2 separate regions of the Homo sapiens genome follow, and region 1 is linked to region 2. Evidence: promoter capture Hi-C in 16 types of primary human blood cells and fetal thymus (Javierre and others, 2016). All regions are on one chromosome and are shown on one strand. Each heading gives the region's core, a stretch centred on a gene start or on the middle of the fragment in contact. The rest is flanking DNA. Distances are from core to core; before and after follow the strand shown.

The links. Contacts are between HindIII fragments. The CHiCAGO score rates a contact against its expected background, and 5 or more counts as called.
Region 1: the fragment with the promoter of LDHAL6B here is called in contact with the fragment with the promoter of RNF111 in region 2 in 2 of 17 cell types (M2 macrophages and endothelial precursors); the score reaches 6.9 in M2 macrophages.

The regions. Positions count from the first base shown.
Region 1 is chr15:59,205,443-59,208,927 of GRCh38, forward strand. It overlaps LDHAL6B (lactate dehydrogenase A like 6B), which reads left to right and starts at 1,401. Exons shown (of 1, transcript NM_033195.3): 1 at 1,401-3,146. The coding sequence starts at 1,499. The coding sequence ends at 2,644. MYO1E (myosin IE) reads right to left here. Exons shown (of 28, transcript NM_004998.4): 14 at 3,239-3,406; 15 at 1-43. The HindIII fragment of the contact is 11,888 bases long and covers 1-2,174 here.
Region 2 is chr15:58,985,985-58,989,366 of GRCh38, forward strand. It overlaps RNF111 (ring finger protein 111), which reads left to right and starts at 1,679. Exons shown (of 14, transcript NM_017610.8): 1 at 1,679-2,084. RefSeq lists a silencer at 2,398-2,562. The HindIII fragment of the contact is 2,845 bases long and covers 1-2,830 here.

The DNA of each region.
Region 1 (3,485 bases), core at 151-2,650, 220 kb after region 2:
CATCCCGGTTCCTTTCACAAAAGCCATCCATGTCATAGGATACCTGGCCAAGAATGGAAAGAAATCGAATTTCATTGAACAAAATGTAATTAATTGAACAAAATCATTTATTGAACAAAAAATCTAATTTCACCAAACAAAAAACCAAAGCTGTCATGGCTACCCTCACCACAACATGTGGATTTCCAGATGTTGCATTTGGGATTTCATTGTGCACTGTCACAGGAAGGCTGTGCACGTCTTACTTGTTAGCTGACTTAGTGGGGAAGGCCTGCAGATGCTGATGAGTATCTGGCTGCCTGGATGGCCCAGCTGATCCGTAATCAGAACTCCAGCTCTCAAGTCCCCATACCCCTTCTTCAGTGGATCCATAGGGGTGTCTAAGTGACATACTCAATACTTTTCCTAAATTTTAGCTAAGCCAGAGCAAAAGTGAAGCCCCTCATGCTCAGTAATTCACTGCAATGAGCCATGTCATCTGAGGCTTTGCAGTTTCTCCCAGAAGTGGTATCAAAGTTGCACCAATCTGGCCAGAAACTCATGCTCAGATACTCTGTTTAACAAGAGATCAGCTGGGATGATGGATGAGACCAGGGGATTTCCATAGCACTAGGAAGTCCCCAAGACCACGACCTCAACTTAACTTTTTTATCATCAGCAGCCCCACACAGCCTGGCATCCAGTAGGCACCCAATACTGATGGGCTTTATAAGAACACCAAAAGTGCACTCTGGGCCTTGATTTATACTACCAGTAGGCATGGGGAGACAAGGAATGCCAGTCTGTGATTCCAGCAAGAGGCAAGACGAAAATCCATTTATTCAGCAGCTAATACATGTAGCAGGGTGATTCATTTTCCAAAAATATGCAGTAGTATGCTGAGATTTAGTGCTGGAGTGACTCCCAGCCGGCCCCTACCCTGCTGAAGCCCCAGCCGACTGTCCCAGGGTGGGTCCTGGCCAGGACTGGCACCAAGGCAGTGGAATCCTTTCAAAATAGGCCTCCAGCGCCATAGACCAGAAAGCAGGCGCCCAATTCTGGGACACTGGGAGATGGTGCAGGCAGCCACCAGTACGCAAAGCATAGAGCCCTATCCTTCCTGGCAGGGTCACGGTTCAGAAAACGTAACCTTATTTTCATCTGTAGTTAACAGAAGCATGTTTCCTCAGCATTCATATTAAAAATAAAAAACTAGTAATTCCAGGGATCTCGGTTAGCCTCTTAAGCATGTCAACTATTGATAATACTCTTAGCAAAACTAACTCCAGAAATCACTTGCTAGAGAAGCAGCCCTTCACTGCCTTAGTCTGAGCACCCACGGAAAGCACGTGTCGGAGACTCTGGCAAGGCCCGCGCAGCCGCAGTAGAGGGCCAGGGGGCGGGGCACGCGCACCTGCCGTAGAGTGCTGAAGGTCCTGCCAACGGCTCTCTTGGCGTCTCAACGTTCGGATCAGCAGCTTTTTTCCATTCTCTCTCTCCACTTCTTCAGTGAGCAGCCATGAGTTGGACTGTGCCTGTTGTGCGGGCCAGCCAGAGAGTGAGCTCGGTGGGAGCGAATTTCCTATGCCTGGGGATGGCCCTGTGTCCGCGTCAAGCAACGCGCATCCCGCTCAACGGCACCTGGCTCTTCACCCCCGTGAGCAAGATGGCGACTGTGAAGAGTGAGCTTATTGAGCGTTTCACTTCCGAGAAGCCCGTTCATCACAGTAAGGTCTCCATCATAGGAACTGGATCGGTGGGCATGGCCTGCGCTATCAGCATCTTATTAAAAGGCTTGAGTGATGAACTTGCCCTTGTGGATCTTGATGAAGACAAACTGAAGGGTGAGACGATGGATCTTCAACATGGCAGCCCTTTCACGAAAATGCCAAATATTGTTTGTAGCAAAGATTACTTTGTCACAGCAAACTCCAACCTAGTGATTATCACAGCAGGTGCACGCCAAGAAAAGGGAGAAACGCGCCTTAATTTAGTCCAGCGAAATGTGGCCATCTTCAAGTTAATGATTTCCAGTATTGTCCAGTACAGCCCCCACTGCAAACTGATTATTGTTTCCAATCCAGTGGATATCTTAACTTATGTAGCTTGGAAGTTGAGTGCATTTCCCAAAAACCGTATTATTGGAAGCGGCTGTAATCTGGATACTGCTCGTTTTCGTTTCTTGATTGGACAAAAGCTTGGTATCCATTCTGAAAGCTGCCATGGATGGATCCTCGGAGAGCATGGAGACTCAAGTGTTCCTGTGTGGAGTGGAGTGAACATAGCTGGTGTCCCTTTGAAGGATCTGAACTCTGATATAGGAACTGATAAAGATCCTGAGCAATGGAAAAATGTCCACAAAGAAGTGACTGCAACTGCCTATGAGATTATTAAAATGAAAGGTTATACTTCTTGGGCCATTGGCCTATCTGTGGCCGATTTAACAGAAAGTATTTTGAAGAATCTTAGGAGAATACATCCAGTTTCCACCATAATTAAGGGCCTCTATGGAATAGATGAAGAAGTATTCCTCAGTATTCCTTGTATCCTGGGAGAGAACGGTATTACCAACCTTATAAAGATAAAGCTGACCCCTGAAGAAGAGGCCCATCTGAAAAAAAGTGCAAAAACACTCTGGGAAATTCAGAATAAGCTTAAGCTTTAAAGTTGCCTAAAACTACCATTCCGAAATTATTGAAGAGATCATAGATACAGGATTATATAACGAAATTTTGAATAAACTTGAATTCCTAAAAGATGGAAACAGGAAAGTAGGTAGAGTGATTTTCCTATTTATTTAGTCCTCCAGCTCTTTTATTGAGCATCCACGTGCTGGACGATACTTATTTACAATTCCTAAGTATTTTTGGTACCTCTGATGTAGCAGCACTTGCCATGTTATATATATGTAGTTGGCATTTGGTTCCCAAAAAGTAGGATGTAGGTATTTATTGTGTTCTAGAAATTCCGACTCTTTTCATTAGATATATGCTATTTCTTTCATTCTTGCTGGTTTATACCTATGTTCATTTATATGCTGTAAAAAAGTAGTAGCTTCTTCTACAATGTAAAAATAAATGTACATACAAAAAAATGCAGTAGTATATACAATCTTTTGTTTTGCTTCCTTTGATAGTTAATAAATTCCGTTTGTTGAATCAATAAAATACGGCGAGCCATATGATTTGCTTCATGAGAAACCAGATCACAAACCCAAAGGCTTAAAACAGATAGACATTAAAATGGATATTGGCCATACCTTCCCAGCATAATGATGAATGATGAAGCCTTGGTTCCAACTGTTGAAGTGCTCATGACTCCCAATCTGCATCTGAAGTTTCTGGAGCAGCGTCTGATCTGCCCCCTCACCCACCGCATGCATCGTGGCGCACACGTCATCCAGGATGCTCATGATGCCAGGAGGGTTCTGATGGGAGCAAGAAGGCAAGGCCCTAGTCACTGACCTCTCCAAAACAGACAATGCTTATCAGGTCCTTTCTTAGGCA
Region 2 (3,382 bases), core at 429-2,928:
GTTAGAGCTGGAAATACAGGTTTGAGAAGTCATGAGATAGTAACAGTTAAAATCAAGGGAGAAGATAAGATAGTCCGGGCAAAATTCTATGTTTAAGAGTGAGAAAATAGGAGGATTGAGGAAAATCCTAGTCGAATGCTCTTTTAGTTTTCCCACACAATCTGCTATCCTTGATCATTATTGTAATTTTAAAATCATTTGTGTGTGTGTGTGTGTGTGTGTTTTGTTTGTTTGTTTGTTTGTTTGTTTTGAGACGGAATCTCACTCTGTCGCCCAGGCTGGAGTGCAGTGGCACAATCTCGCACTCACTACAACCTCTGCCTCCCGGGTCCTAGCAATTCTCCTGTGTCAGCCTCCCGAGTAGCTGGGGTTACAGGCGCCCGCCACTACGCCCGGCTAATTTTTTGTATTTTTAGTAGAGACAGCGTTTCACCGTGTTAGCCAGGATGGTCTCCATCTCCTGACCTCATGATCCGCCCGCCTTGGCCTCCAAAAGTGCTGGGATTACAGGCGTGAGCCACCGCGCCCAGCCTTTTTTTTTTTTTTCTTGGAGACGGAGTCTCCCTGTCACCCGGGCTGGGGTGCAATGGCTTGATCATGGCTCACTGCAACCTCGGCCACCCTGGCTCAAGCGATTCTCCTGCCTCAGCCTGCCGAGTAGCTGGGATTACAGGCGTCCGCCACCACGCCCAGCTAGTTTTTGTATTTTTAGTGGAGAAGGAGTTTCACCATGTTGGCCAGGCTGGTCTTGAACTCCTGATCTCAGGTAGTCCACCCGCCTAGGCCTCCCAAAGTGCTGGGATTACAGGCGTGAGCCACCGTGCCCGGCCAAAATCATTTGCTTACTGAATGATACGGAAAATATGAGTGAACAAAAAAAGTATTGAAAAAGATGAGTTGATGGCAAAGGGAGGGAATTAATGTTTAGTGAACACTTAATTGGCAAGTAATGTTCAGAGCATTATATAAATTGTCTCATTTAATCTAACAAGAACCTTTTGAGGTAAATACGTTATCCCAATTTATAGAGGAGGAAACTAAGATTTATAAGGATCTCATCAATCAGAGAACTCTTAAGTGGCACCACTGGACTTTGAAAGGAAGTCTGCCTGATGGACTCTGAAGCTCATCCTCTCTCTATCCTCCTAATGCATATAATGACGCATTTGTTATCTACTGACTTTTATAAAATAAACAAGGAGGCTTATGCGATTGTACAGCCCGAGTTCGCAGGAGATATGTGACCACTTTTGATCTGATTCCGGAAGCAAATTCACTTTAACAGTGAGGTGCCGTGATCTTTATGTCATTAGCGCATATGATATGGGTATCATTTGTTGTGAAAGACACTAACCCATGATGTTTTTGTTTACGTATATCTGTAAATGTATCAATTCTGTAGTTGGTTAATTTTTAGTTACGAAAAAATGAACCAAGATGTAGTCAAGATTTGGCTTAAATGTTGAACGCATAATCACCAAAGAAAATTAAATAATGAGCTTTGTGACACCTTTCAGTTCGCCAACAGACTGATAAAACCAGTACAAAGGGGGAGGGCCGGGACCGAGGGGGCGGGACGGTGAGAAACGGGAATCGAGCAAGCGCAGAAACAAACAGATGTTAATGGAGGCGTGAAGGCTACTGCGCTCTCACTTTCCGAACTGTCGTAAAGAGCCCTAGTGTCGTGCTCTCCTCGGTAGGGGAGGAATTGGTTAGGCGGCGGCGGCGGCGAAGCGGCGGCGGCGGCTGTAGGGGAGCAGCGGCAGTGGCGGCGACGGCGAGGAGGTGTTCGGTTTGCGCAGCGTAGAAACGCCCGCAGCTTCAGAGAAGGAGTTCTTGTGGGACCAAATTAGGCATTCTGAACCCACGCCGGCTTAGCTGGGCCGAGTCCAGGCGCTGCCGCACGTACAGTTTTGGTGGCGGTGACAGACACTGTTCTTGACTCTAGGGGCCTATTAGGCCGACGTCTGAGGCGCAGATCGCTGGCTCTCGACGCATTACTCTTTACGCCTTACATTTCTGTCTTCCTTCCTGGGTCAGTGATTCCCGGACCCTGGAAGAGAAGAGGGTGGCTAATGATTAAGGTGAGGGGAACGGGGGGGGAGGGGATCCATTGGAGGCCGCGCGTGCGCGCAACGGGGGAGGGGCCGGCCTGGAGGGGAGAAAGAGGAAGGGCTGCGGCCGCGGAAGGCTGGGGTCGGTGACCGGCCGGTTATCTCTGGCTCGGTGGTGACTTAGGGTCTGGGTCTCCGCAGACGATTTGTGTTTGGGCAAGGCATTCGTCTACCGACACACCCACAGCCTACAGTGAGGGAGTGTGGGTGAGGGGATTTCTCTCCCACTTCCGACTCTCCCTAGAGTCTCAGGATGGGGGCTGAGGACCGAGGCGTGGGAGTGCGATTTGACAATGGAGTGATGAAGGTAACCCGGACCCGGGGAGTTGGAGGGCGCTAAGTCAGCCCTGACGGCTAGGGAGTCGCCTGCTGCTGCTGTGATCAAGGAAACGTAGTCCGCGGAACAGCTGAAATACAGACGCGTCAGATTTTGTATGGAGTTGGCTTGTTGGTCATTTAAAAAGAAACTGATGTTTTTACTATTGTCCTTCGATAATTTATCAGAGTCAGTGTCAGTGCTATAGTGGGAATATCTGTTCAGTGCAGCAGAAATAGATTTGTTACAACAGTTCTTAAATAGGTTATAGTAGATAGATCTTTACAGATGGGTATTTCTCAACCTAAGTTTTGATTATTCAAAAAATACCAGAAAGTATGAGGTATTCATTTAATTTGTTCGTGTGTGTGTTGTGGGGTGACTCCATTGTGTTGTTGTAAGCTTTCCTGTTTCTTGATTTATGTGCGGCATTAATTTAGAATTCTCTTGAATGGTAAGATGCCAGCTGACATAGACTACGTTTTGTAGGATTTCCTGTAGCTTTTGAATGTGACTTAATCTAAACTTTATTTCATTTGGTATTTTATCTATAATTTTCTTGTTTTAGGGGCCTCTTGAACTAAAAAGAACAAACTGGGAAAAACATAAGCTAAGGTTCCATTTCCTTTCCCATTTTTGTTGTGTGTGTGTGTGATGGTTGTAAATGCTTGAATGTGATTTTGAGATTACCATACACAACTTCTGTAACGCTGGACTTAGCTTTATTACAGTAAAGATACATCTTTTGATAGTTTATTACTATATGTATTTTTGTAAAAATCTTCATGTCAGTATAAGCCACATTGTTTCACCCTAGTCTGGTTATATTTGTGAGGTGAAACAGATGGATAAGAAGGAAGCCCTTTTACTTTTACAATCATTTTAAATTGATTGTTTCTAAAGCCTTGATTTATCTTATTTTGGACACTTTCTTGCCATTTAACCTTGGACA